Linked DNA regions of Homo sapiens: regions 1, 2 and 4 are each linked to region 3. The links are contacts of gene promoters, found by promoter capture Hi-C in human tissues and cell types (Jung and others, 2019). All regions are on one chromosome and are shown on one strand. Each heading gives the region's core, a stretch centred on a gene start or on the middle of the fragment in contact. The rest is flanking DNA. Distances are from core to core; before and after follow the strand shown. Region 1 overlaps SHROOM3 (shroom family member 3). Region 2 overlaps SHROOM3 (shroom family member 3). Region 3 holds the start of SOWAHB (sosondowah ankyrin repeat domain family member B). Region 4 overlaps SHROOM3 (shroom family member 3).

Region 1 (3,015 bases), core at 4-2,503, 220 kb before region 3:
GCTCTGTCACCCAGGCTAGAGTGCAGTGGCGTGATCTCAGCTCACTGCTAGCTCCGCCTCCTGGGTTCACACCATTCTCCTGCCTCAACCTCCTGAGTAGTTGGGACTACAGGCTCCCGCCACCACGCCTGGCTAATTTTTTGTATTTTTAGTAAAGACAGGGTTTCACCATGTTAGCCAGGATGGTCTCATCTCCTGACCTCGTGATCCGCCTGCCTCGGCCTCCCAAAGTGCTGGGATTACAGGGTATGGTGGCTCATGCCCGGCCGGATACATGCATTTTAATTTGGTGAAAAAATATTACTTGCATTAAGGGGATTCTGCCTCATTGCCCTTAAAAAAGTTCTCTTCCCTACAAATTTCCAAACTAAAGGGAGCATACATCAAAACAACATTTGCTGTTTGTCGCTTTGATCAAGAAACACCCATTTCAAAAATAAACTCAAAACTAGGCCAGATTTTTTGAAAAGTCCCTTCCCTAATTAAATCAGTCAATATAAACAGCTTAGCCTCCCCACTGGATAAGAAAGAAAAAGTGGGATGGGGTGAGGGTGGGTAGGTAGCCCAGGTAATAAGTAATTGAGTTGGGTTCCTTAAGCTTCTCATTTTGCCTGTCGCCATGACTGTCTTCAACGGTTAGCTCTATGAATCTCTATCAGACTTGAGTTGGAATCACACTGTGTGATTAGGGACTTAATATAGTCTTATTTGGGTCTTCAAAAGCTTCTTTTGCCATTATATATTATACCAAGGTAATTTTAAAAATAATCTTATTGGCCAATGGTTTAGAAAGAAAGATTTTTTTTTTCTGAAGAAGATCCACAGTTCTCCTCTCTGTTTCTGTAAAGTCTTATATTTTTCTGTTTTTTGTCCTTTTTGTCTACATAAAGAGAAAGGATGTTTAAGAGTAACTGCTAGGCAGCTTGCTGAGAGAAAAAAGCCAAGGGTGGAGGAGTGGGGTGGGGTTTAAATAGCAGCCAAATTGAGCAATAGTGTATTTTCCTCTTCAGAATGAATTAGGCTATTTTCTTCTTTTTCATACTTGTTCTTTACTGTGTTTTTGTTAAAAAAAATTTTAATTGTGATGAAAAATACATAACATAAAATTTACCACCTTCACCACTTATAAGCGTGCAATTCAGTAGTATTAAGTATATTCACATTGTGGTACAACAGATCTCCTGAACTTTTTCATCTTGCAAAACTGAAACTCTATATCCATTAAACAACCCCCGTGTCCCCACTTTACTGTTGTGTTTTAAAAATATTTATTTATTTGTTTATTTTGAGACAGGGTTTCACTTTGTTGCCTAAGCTAGACTGCAGTGGCGCAATCGTAGCTCACTGTAACATTGAACTCCTGGGGTCAAGTGATCCTCCTGCCTCAGACTCCCAAGTAGCTAGGATTACAGGTATGTGCCACCACACCCAACTACTTTTTTTTTCTTTTGTAGAGACAGGGGTCTTGCTATGTTGACCAGGCTGGTCTGAAACTCCTGGCCTCAAGCGATCCTCCCACCTCTACTTCCCAAAGTGCTAGGATTACAGGCATGAGCCACCATGCCCAGCCTTACTGTTGTTTGTAAATTAGAATTAAAAAGATGGACTTTTCTGATTCTGTATAATGTTTTCATCAATTCATATGTCGAAAAGTCAAAATTTTAAAGTATTTTTAATATAAGAGATACCTGTTTTCTATGAACAGTGATCCTATATTTCTATAGGTTATTTATCTTTTCTTCTCTCCTACACATTTTCAGGTAGGTGAGACAGGAACTCATTCACATCCTTGAATCTTTAGCCACCTCTCTGACTCCTCATAACGTGAGGATTGAGGCTGAGTTGTCCTCTAATAGCAGGAAGCAGAATAATCCTTTTTTCCTAGATCATATGTCAAATTTATTTTCTTCTCTCTCTTTCTCTTTCTTTCTTTCTTTCCTTCCTTCCTTCCTTTTTTTTTTTTTTTTTTTTTTGTTTTGACACAGGGTCTTGCTCCATTGCCCAGGCTGCCACAATCTCAGCTCACTGCAAACGCTGCGTCCCCAGGCTCAAGTGATCCTCCCACCTCAGCCTCCCAAGTAGCTGGGACTACAGGCACACATCACCATGCCCAGCTAATTTTTGCATTTTTTGTAGAGCCAGGGTTTCTCCATGTTGCCCAGGCTGGTCTTGAACTTCTGGGCTCAAGTGATCCGCCTGCCTCGGCCTCCCAAAGTGCTGGGATTACAGGCGTGAGCCACCACACCCGGCCATGTCAAGTTTCTAGAAGCCATTTCTTACCTTCTCCCCACTCATCCTCCCCATTCCCCCCACTCTTCAGCAACTGTGGCATACTAGTCTCTGGTCTTAGGGTTCATACCGGCTGCCAGGGGTCCTTCTTGGGTTGGCTCCAGTTTTCTGAAATCTGGCAGTTAGTTAATAAGAAAACGAGGGATATAAATAATGGGCTTAGACAGTTTCCTCTGGGTATGCTTTTAGGTTCTGTCAGATTTATTCATTCCTACACATGAGGAAGAGACCAATGTTCCCTTCAGACATGAATATGAACATAGACCAGAGATAAACAAGGTGGGGTGTGTGTAGGGAGTAGGAGGGAAGCTCAAAGTCCAGATGCGTATTAGCACCGGTGAAAACACACCCATTTATGAAGAACAGGGATCTCATGCTGGATAAGGGGACAAAAAGCAGAATTCTTAACCTGGCAACTACCATACTGACAGAAGCAGGGTTCTCACTCATTAATTCATGATATTGAAGTACCACTGGTATTTCTAAAAACAGTTTTCAAAGCATTATTTGTTTTGTGATCTCAGTAGTTTGAAAACTCCAAAGGAATGTTTATTGGAGATCTATTATCTACCATGCCTTGTACTAGACACTGTAGGTACCCAGAAGAGTAAGAAAGATGTAGTCCCTTCCCTCAAGAATCTTACTGTCTAGTTGTCAAAATCCTGGAGTATATTATAAGTAGAGGCCAGGCGCGATGGCTGATGCCCATAATCCCAGCACTCTGGA
Region 2 (3,221 bases), core at 62-2,561, 160 kb before region 3:
GGGCCAAATCCTAGACCTCTCACTGATGAACAGTAGCTCATGGAATTGAACAGGACAAACCTCTCTCAGCATATCAGGGTAGGATTCAGGCCACAGGAAGAGATAATGTCCTGGTTCCTTCCTGGTTACAGATGCTCCTCTCCCTTGCCCATGTCCTTCCCAATCACCCTGAAAGAAATTATTCTCACCGTCTGAGCCATCTGTTCTCAGAGAGCAGGTTTCCTAGCAGTGTCTCCTGACCCTTGACAAAGCCAGACTACTTTTGCTTTACAGGCATGGAGGTGTTGAGGGCCTTTAGAAGGTAAGGTGTGTGGAGCCTAACAATGAAGGAAGAATAGCATAGTGGTAAGGGACTGGGCCTTTAAGTCAGACCTAGGTTTAAATCTCCCCTTACCCCTACGGTGTAAGCTTGAGCAAATCATTTAACCTTTGATCTTGGCTTCCTTTTCTGTAAAATAACTAGTACCTACATCATTGGATTGTTGTGAGGATTATATAAAATAGCATATGTGCAATTCTTAGTACATAGTAAGCACTCAATGAATGATGACTGATTATAATAATTAAGCTGAAGACTTCAGGACACCATGAAACCTGGTACTGAACTTGAGGGTGAATGGCCAGCACACACTTATAAATGCAGGTGGGTATGTATTAACAGAGTGCCCTTCAACAGTGGGGTCCTTTGAGCATCCTTACTCCTAACCTTCTTATGAAGCCCTAAATCCAAAGCCACACTGTGACTTAAAAAATGTGCTGGCCCTTCAGCAGAGATAAGCACTGCAATCAGTACTTAGAATGACTGCTTACAGTAACTATGGTGAGCTCCAGTAGGCCTCAGGGGAATGGGGCCGTCAGCACCAGAAGTACAGTATTTTCAAGGCTTTGCTTCTGCACCTCCTCCTTCCTCCTCTGCATCCCAGCCTCCAGAGGGGCTTAGGCAGGTGGATCTGCCCTTGTGCTGTATCTACCACTCTGTCTCTCTGATTGAAGCTTCAAAATTGTTCCTCCTGACATAAGGACCATCAGCACAAAAGCACTGCATGGGGACAAAAGGAGAAAGGAAAGTTCAAATAACTCAAAATGTTACAGGCGTGTGCATTCTCTCCTGCTGCAGCACAAACCACCCTGTGGTGCAGCACAAACAAACCATGCCTGAGGCTTGCAGCTTTGGCAGAGGGCTTGACCCCCATGCTGAGTTCCACCTGTGGGATCTGATCTTGGCAGCGGCAGGTGGAGAGGTGCCCCAGGTGTGTTTCTGAGGAGCACAGTGGCATCTAGTGGTCCAGTGTGCCACATCAGTTGGCTGGTATCTCTCTGACAGCCTTAGTTTAAGTTCCAGAAACCAATCTCAGTCCTGAATTTATGGATCTGTTTCTTGTTAAGAAGCAGGCGTAAGAGGGGGTGAGAGGATGAGGGAGAGACAGGAGTGAGGTGAGAGAGAGAGAGAAAGAGAAGTATGGAGAGACTGAAGATGTGTAATTTAACTGTGAGCTAGGTTGGATTTGGAATTTCACTGAAATTGTATTTCAGCTGCTTTCTGTCAGACCCTTGACACTCTGTTTTTGCTGCCCTATGGAAATCTCACCCAGTGGTTCTAAAGTACTAAAGTACTTTAGAAGAGACTGAAAAGTTATGTAGTCTAGCCCCCTGACAAGAGGCTGAAATAGCAGTATCAAATCAGTGATTCATTCATTCAACAAATCTGTATGAGCATCCACTATGTCTCAGATGCTTTGTAGGTATTGGGAGTACAGTGGTGAACAAGGCATAAAAAGCCCCCTGCACCACAATTATTTGTTTCCCAAAATGTGTTCCGTGGAATAACAATCCACTAGATACTTCTTAGAAAAAAAAGTTTCTGAGATCAAGTAAGTTTAGAAAACATCTCTTAGTTAAATTATATATTTCTCTTTTAGAACAACACATGAAAAATGGTTTGGGAGAACAATAGTTTATAAAAGACTCAGAAATCTTGCAGTAAATAAAATTGTTTAGCTTATTTAGCTCAATATTTTCCAAACATATTTAATCATCTAAGGAATTAGTGTTCTGTGAGCACACTTTAGGAAATGTTTTCATACACTTATTTTGTGCTCTATGTTTTAAATATTTTAAAAATACTTTTTTTTTTTTTTTTGAGATGGGTCTCACTGTGTTGCCCAGGCTGGGGTGCAGTGATGCGATCAAGGCTAACTCCAACATTGACATTCTGGGCTCAAGCGATCCTCCCGCCTCAGCCTCCCAAAGTGCTGGGATTACAGGCGTGAGCCACCGTACCTGGTAGATACCTGTGTTTAAAAGTATTTTAAACACACAAAATAGAATGATATTATAAAAATACATACATCTACCACAGAATTAAAAAGCATTTTATGTTCACTTCAGTTCTTTAAATATTATAGATACAGTCAAAGTCTCTTTCACATAACCAAAGGGATATGATATAATGTCAAGTAGTGGTAAGTGCTGTGAAGAAAATAAAGCAGGGTAACAGGCATAAAGGAGAGAAGAGATGCTCTTTAGTTAGTTCCAGGAGGTCCTCTCTGAATGAAGTAAGAGGGAGTAAGCCAGGTGAAGAGCACTCCGGGTGGTGGGAGCAGTGAGTACAAAGACTCTGAGACCCTGAGATGGGAATAAATTTCCTGGGTTTGAGTTTCAACAGGGAAACTATTATGCTGGAGTGCAGGGAGCAAGAAGAAGAGCAATAGAAAATGAGGCTGGAGAAGTAGCCAGACCATGGTAAGAACTTTGATCCACTCAAGATGCACCCCTCTTGAGAGTAAGGCTGGCTTTATGTGAGTTGGAATTGTTGCAGGATTGAAAACCTTCATTCCAAGTTTTCTTACCCATCATTAAAAGTGCCATTTTGGTGGCATCAATGGCAAAGGTAATAAAAATGAGTATTTCCAGACAGCAGTGGAAGAACTTGTCCTAGTGAGTGATATCAGTGCCTGTATTCCCCAGGCAGCTTGGGAATGGTAATTCTGAAGGGACAGAACCCTCTCCGGGCAGGAGGGAAAATACCTAACAGAGGCCTTCCATGACCTTTCTACCTTAGGTTTGCTACAGGAAGGAACCCACTATACCCTTGCACTGGTCTGATTAGAGATATGTGTAACAGGGATTTCATATTTATAGATACCATCTATATTTTAAGATATGTTAGGCTGGGCACGGTGGCTCACGCCTGTAATCCCAGCACTTTGGGAGGCCAAGGA
Region 3 (3,256 bases), core at 560-3,059:
GGCTCTCCCTGCCAGAGAGCTCCTCCTGAGGGACCTCCTTAACTTAGGAACTGGCCAAGGCAAAGGCTTCAGGGGGTGGCCTGCAAGGCCATTAGCCCCTGCAGGGACCTGCTGAGAGATGTGACCATCCCCTCTGTTTCTGAGACCCTGAGGGCTCCGGCTGGGGCTGCCCTCCTTCCGAGATACAGAAAGGCCCCCAGCTGGATTCCTGAGCTTCCCCCTATCTGGGGTTCCCAAGACAACCTGCAGCCCCTCTTCAGAAGCCCCCGGGGAGTCTTTGGGCCCACTGCTGCTCTCCTCACTGCCATCACTCTCCTGGTCCACAAAGTCATCCAGATCTTGGAGGGACAGCTGACAACGAATGCTGCGAAAGACAGTCAATGAAGGGTTCCCCGCCCAGGATTCCCAGGACTCATCCGGAACAACAGGAAAGAGAGAGTGCGAGGAAAGACAGGGGTCTGGCGGCTCTGAATTAGGCTCCGTGGAGCCGGGTTCCAAGGGCAGCTGGAGGAAGTTGTCTGGCAGCACCGACCAGGCGCGGATAGGGCCCTGATCACGGGCCTCGGGCACCTGCGGGTGCCTGGCCACCCACTCTCGAGTGCGCTGCTGCTGCTGCTGCAGGGTCGAATAATGCAGGGAGCTGGGGGTCAGCAGCTCCGGCCGGTCTCCGCGGGGAGCGGGGCCGGGCAGGAGAGCAGGCGGGGAAGCCCTGCTTGTCGCAGCCTCGACGGTGGCGGGAGGCGAGTGAGCCACTGCAGGCACAGGCGCCGGCTCAGCTAGCGCGCCTTCTTCCCGCTCCCTGGAAGCCCCGCGGTCATCCTGGGCAGGCAGAGCCCGTGCCGGCTTCTCCTCCGCGGTGGCCGAGTGCGGGAGTGCGCCGAGCTCTCCCGGCAGTACAGCCAGGTTGTTCTGGAGGCATTCCCAGCAGCAGCGGCCCTGCGTCTTCGCCGCCGCGCAGCTCGCTCTCGCCTGGGCCCCTGCCGCTGCAGCTGCGGGCACCGGCGGCCTCTGTCCGGGACTGCCCTTCGATCCGCCGCCCTTCCCGGGCGCCCTACGGGAGTCGCTGCCCGGGAGTCCATTGCAAGCTGCGTCGGCGGCTCTGGCTGCTGCACCTGCTGGCTCCTCCTCCGGCTCCTTCTCGCGCCGCCGCCGCCTGGGCTGCTGCTGGGGCGGCTCCCCCCGGCGCGCGCCTCGCGGGGAGCAGGGCGCAGCTCCCCCTGCACTGGGGGCGGCCGCGGGCGGCTCGCGGGGTCGCTGCAGCCCCTCCTCCCCCAAAAGGTCCCTGTATCTCCTCTTGAGCACCACGTACTTGGTGCCGTCGGGGTCCTGGCGCACTGCGGCGACCGAGTTGACGAAGCCCTTGAAGAGCTCGCGGCGGTGCTGGTGCTGGCTGGGGGACGCGTCGGGGTCTCGGAGAAAGCTCTTGAAGTGGCTCAGCAAGGCAGCGTTGGTCACGCGGCCCCCAGCCTGGCACAGAAAGTCCAGTAGTGCCTCCTGGCTCAGCTCTCGGGCCATCGCTGCCTTGTCCTCCGCCCCAGAGGTGTCTGAGTCTCGCCCTCCCGGGGCTCTCCCCAGCCAGAGGAAACCCTGGCCGGGCGAGTGTCACCTGCGCCCGGGGCGGCACTAGCCGCCCCCATCAGCCGCGGAGGCCAGCGCTGCCCGCAGCCCGTGAGCGCGCCAGGAGGGCCGTGGGTCCCCTCCGGGTGGCCCCAAGGCTGAGTCCCCGCGGCAGTCTGCGTGAGAGAGGGCGGCTCCGAGGCCGCCCCTGCGCGACTCTAGCCTCTCGCAACGAGTCCTCACAGCGAAAGTTCCCGGGATAGGGCCGAGTCGGTTTCACCTGCGCCCTGGCGGCACCTCCTCCCTGCCTCTGGGGGAAGGGTCAGGCCCGCCTCCTCGTGTCCCTCCGCCCCCTGAGGTCTCCCCCACCCCCTGCCACCCATCCCAGAAGAGTCAGGCCGGAGAGCCAGCCGGTAGGTGAGGTTGGCGGCGAACCGAGCCGGCAGCGAACTGCTCTGCGGCCGGGGAAGTGGAAGGCAGGTAGGCGACCGGCCGTTCCTCTAAGTCTCCGCCACGCAGGAAACAAAAGCGATAGAAGGTCCGTTCCTGTCCTCCGGTGCTTTGATGAGTTCAGGCTGAAGCCGATGGGGGAGGAGGAGAAGCTGCAAGTTAACAGGCAATCTGAGTTATCTTTCTTTATTAACGCTGTAGAGGAGTACTTCAGATTTCTCGAGGCTGTATTGAGGTCCGCAAAACTCACTTTGCATCCAAACTAAATTTTTCTTAATATAGAAATACTTTCTGGGCCGCTTCTCCGGCGCCCCCTCCAAGGGGTCCGAATACATCCAAGTCTATACTGAAAAGAGAAATCACTCTGAAAATTACTACTGGGCAATATTGGTTTGGGACTTTTTCTTTCATACTTGTCTTTCCTTCATACTTGTCTCACATTAAGGTGCTGGAAAAAAAAAATCACTTTGATAGCTTCTTGCCCCCGGCGGCTAAAATGAACTAGGAATTATGTCTCGCCAGTTAAGGTATTTGATGTGTAGCATTAGTTTGCTTTTATTTACTCTAAAATTTGTGAACAGCAGAGATTTGTACAGTGTTTTGTATTGGCTTGGTGAAGTGCTTCCTTTCAGAATGTAAGGTTCAAAATGCAGACTAGAGCTGTCTTTAACAGCACCTTTTCCCCCTAACAGCTGGGATCCCTCTTCCTTTTTCTCTCTCCACATGTTGACCCTTCTGTCTTTGATGTGAGATCCTGGATGTCCCTCACTGTTCCTTATCAGTCCTGTTGACATGCCTGAGATAGTTTTCACTGTCATTATCTCTTTACCTGTTTTAGTTCCAAGCCTTCTCTCATTCTTTTCTTTAACTTGGCCTTCCCATTTCTTTCTGTTACACGACATCCTTGTTTACCTTCGGCCTCTACTGACAGGAAATATGTCTGTTTCTCAGATCCTCTCATGTCCACTGTATTTCCCATTCAAAAACCTCGATTTTCTCCTTCCCTGTAATTTGCCTCTCTTTTCTCATGGACTCTTCTCATCTTTTCACTTTTCCTTTTGCTCTTCTATTTCTGATTACTCATAGTTCCTATACTTCTCGCCAAGAAAGAGTATTGAAAGTATGTGTGTTGGCCCTACAATTGTTGACAAAGACATGTTTTAGCATGGACCAATCTTAGTGACTGCCCTATAGACCACATTAACTGAGCTTGATTTTAAATCCCCAAAAATACCCTAGCACTTTTCCA
Region 4 (3,197 bases), core at 181-2,680, 200 kb before region 3:
CCTCAATTGCCTTGACACCTTCCTCCCCTTCTGTAGTATCACTTGAACAGGAGCTGTTTCCTCCTGCAGGATCACTGAGAGGGGTTCACTTTCTAGGGAAGGTCATGTCAGAAAGAAGATTGGGAGGTAGAGCCTGGTGGCTGGGCAGTCTTCACCTTGCCTGAATGAGCAATGCCTCCATTTCACAGCCTTCAGCTTGTGGGATTTCTTCATGCATGTCAGAAACTAGTTTTCTTATGCTGTTGTAACACCCAAAGAAGGAATAGGGGCATGAACAATGGTCATTCATTTATTCAGCAATCATTTACTGTGTGGGAGGCATCCCAGGAACTGGCGATGGGTTCCCTGCCCTCAGGAACTCGTCTTATAAGAGGCAAAATAAAACATGTTAATAAGCTAGTGCCATTCTGAAGGTGTAGAGTACAGGGGTTAAGAAATTAAGTTTGTTGTAAAGTTAAACATACACCAACCTATGACCCAACATTTCCACGCCTAGGTATTTACCCAAGATAGGTGAAAACAAATGTCCACCAATGACTTGTACAGAATGTTCATAGCAACCTTATTTATAATGACCAATACCTGGAAACAACCCTACATCCATCAACAGGAAAATGGGTAAAGAAACAGTGGCACATCCATACAATGAATACGACTCAGCGATCAATGGGAATGAACTCTTGATACAAAAACCTGGATGAGTCTCAAGAGCACGTTAACTGAAAGCAGCCAGATACAAAATAATAATAAGCAATTCTATTCATGAAGTGCTAGAATAGGCAAAACTAATCTATGACAGAAGTCAGTGGTTGCCAGTGGGTAGGGACTGACTAGAAAGAGATAAGAAGGGATTTTCTGGAATGATGGAAATGTTTTATGTTTTGTTTTTCGTGATGGTTTCATAGGTATACACAATTATCCACACCCATCGAACTGAACACCTAAGACCTGTGCATTTTATTGTATGCAAAGCATTACCTGAATTAGAAGAAAAACTTAGGTTCTAGAGTTACACAAGAGTATACATCCCACATCTGCCTCTAGGCATATATTACCCTGGACAAGATATTAAATAAATACCTCTGAGCTGCAAGACATTGGACAATAATAGAACATCTTCATAGGGTTGTTGCAAAGATTGAGTTAATGACTGAAGGTACTTAGCTTAGTAAGAACTCAGTAAATGTCAACTACTATTTCCAGGCACTGTGATAAATATAATATGTGATTTTGGAGTTGATGAAAAAGTATTTACACTTTTGTGAAAGCCATATCATTTAAGATTATCAAGGATCTTATATTAACTGGTATCCTTATCATTATTACTATGCATACCTTCATTTTGATAAGTTTGTTTTTTTTTTTTTTTTTTTTTTTAAAGCAACAAGACAGAGTCTTGCTGTGTTGCCCAGGCTGGAGTGCAGTGGCACAATCTTGGCTCACTGCAGCCTCCACCTCCCGGGTTCAAGCGATTCTCCTGCCTCAGCCTCCCAAGTAGCTGGGACTACAGGCACATGCCACTATACCCAGCTAATTATTTTTGTATTTTTAGTAGAGACTGGGTTTCACCATGTTGGCCAGGATGGTCTCAATCTCTTGACCTCGTGATCTGCCTGCCCCAGCCTCCCAAAGTGCTGGGATTACAGGTGTGAGCCACTGCACCTGGCCCTTGATGAGTCATTTTTTAAGGTTGTGGGGATTTAAAATGTGAAGTTCTTGTGTACGTGATCAAAATACTACTGGGGTTTGGTTTTGCCAGCAGAAGTAAACTCCAAAGAGAGGAACTACGCACTAGGCAAACTCCTTTTTTTTTTTTTTTTTTTCCTGAGGACTGATCTGAGGACTGATTTAATGATGATTGTCGAAGCTGAGCTCCCAGATGAGGCTCACAACATCTTCTGGGAATCCAAATGAAAGGTTAACATACTATATTCTCTTCCCAAAGATGTAGGTAGAAAAAAAAAACAAAACTCGATCTCTCTATCAAAATTAACGTCATGCTTTTCAGTAAAATGCTTTGGACAGAGTGGTAAATTTATAATAGTTTATTTAATCTATTAAGCTTCAGTGATTTAATTTAAGTTCAACAAAGCATTTGGGAAAGATGTTATATATTTTGCCAACTCCAAGTGAGGCATTTTGTTGTTGGGTTGGTTTAATTCATTCAGTAAACATTTGTCAAACATTTACTGAGAACGCATTAGCCTCTGGGAATTCAATGATGAATAATAAGACATTGTACCCTCAAGGGTTCATAGACACTCCAGCCACAAGTGTGAATGTGTACACATTTCTTTTGGAATTTTTCTCAGAGCAGAGAGGTCTGTCTCAGGCTAGTCTTTTTGTTTGTTTTTTTTTGTGTTTTGTTGTTTGTTTTAAAAGCTCCTGCTTACAGTGGAGGTTTAAAATCCTAGTTCTTTTAATTGATGTTATTTTCTTAAACATTGGCATTTCTCATTAAGGCTTCACTTGTTATTCCTTACTAAAAATAGCAAAAACAAAATGGTCTTATATAAAGGCAATTGAGTACAGTGGAAAGGTCAGAGACTGTGCAAGTAGAATGACCTACGTTTGAATCTGAGCTCTGCTACACTAGTAATTTGGAGAGTCCTTTAAGCAGCTGTTTCCTCATCTGCAAGATGGTGATAATGATACCTTAAGAGAGGTATTAATATTTATTAGGTTAAGGCTGTTATAAGGATTAAGTGACAGAATACATGTAAATATAACTAGGCTGGCACCTGATAGGTGTTAATTCCTAACATTTATTGAGTACTTACTAGGAGTCAAGCACTGTCTAATACGTTTTGTGCTGGCTGATTTTATCTTCCTCACACTCCTATGAGGCAGGCACTGTTACTATCCCCTTTTAAAGGTGAGGAAACCAAAATCATAGGTTAAATAACTTGCTGAGGGCATGGAGGTGCCAGGGTTAGTACCCAATACCATCCTGTCAATTAATGGATGAGGTCTGTAATAGATGTCAACTATCTTTCCCTTTTAGATATGATTGTTTTATACCAATAAGTGGAACTAACTAGTGCCCTGCTTATGGCTGCATGCAGATTAATACTGGTGGTGGGGGATGGTTGACTCCTTGAATATGTTCTTAAATGGTTAATGGGTCTACCACCTTTGGGGGTTTGTGGGATGCTTGTAGGAAAGGCTCTAATGAACATGTCTTTTCTTTTCCCAGC

Evidence for each region. The method cuts DNA at HindIII sites, captures the fragments that hold promoters and counts their contacts. A contact is called where the count stands out against the background at its distance.
Region 1: a fragment that was not itself captured here is called in contact with the fragment with the promoter of SOWAHB in region 3 in 1 of the 25 tissues and cell types used here (liver).
Region 2: a fragment that was not itself captured here is called in contact with the fragment with the promoter of SOWAHB in region 3 in 3 of the 25 tissues and cell types used here (IMR-90 fibroblasts, aorta and dorsolateral prefrontal cortex).
Region 4: a contact is called between a fragment that was not itself captured here and the fragment with the promoter of SOWAHB in region 3, in 1 of the 25 tissues and cell types used here (IMR-90 fibroblasts).

What each region holds. Positions count from the first base shown.
Region 1 is chr4:76,672,604-76,675,618 of GRCh38, forward strand. All of the region lies in intron 2 of SHROOM3 (shroom family member 3), which reads left to right. Among named protein-coding and RNA genes, the nearest start is that of MIR548AH, 99 kb to the left of the region's middle. The HindIII fragment of the contact is 5,192 bases long and covers 1-3,015 here.
Region 2 is chr4:76,732,390-76,735,610 of GRCh38, forward strand. All of the region lies in intron 4 of SHROOM3 (shroom family member 3), which reads left to right. All of the region lies in intron 2 of SHROOM3-AS1 (SHROOM3 antisense RNA 1), which reads right to left. Among named protein-coding and RNA genes, the nearest start is that of SHROOM3-AS1, 68 kb to the right of the region's middle. The HindIII fragment of the contact is 4,090 bases long and covers 1-3,221 here.
Region 3 is chr4:76,896,335-76,899,590 of GRCh38, forward strand. SOWAHB (sosondowah ankyrin repeat domain family member B) reads right to left here and starts at 1,810. Exons shown (of 1, transcript NM_001029870.3): 1 at 1-1,810. The coding sequence starts at 1,515. RefSeq lists silencers at 1,161-1,270, 1,531-1,830, 1,901-1,970. The HindIII fragment of the contact is 8,540 bases long and covers 1-3,256 here.
Region 4 is chr4:76,692,017-76,695,213 of GRCh38, forward strand. All of the region lies in intron 2 of SHROOM3 (shroom family member 3), which reads left to right. Among named protein-coding and RNA genes, the nearest start is that of SHROOM3-AS1, 110 kb to the right of the region's middle. The HindIII fragment of the contact is 4,768 bases long and covers 1-3,197 here.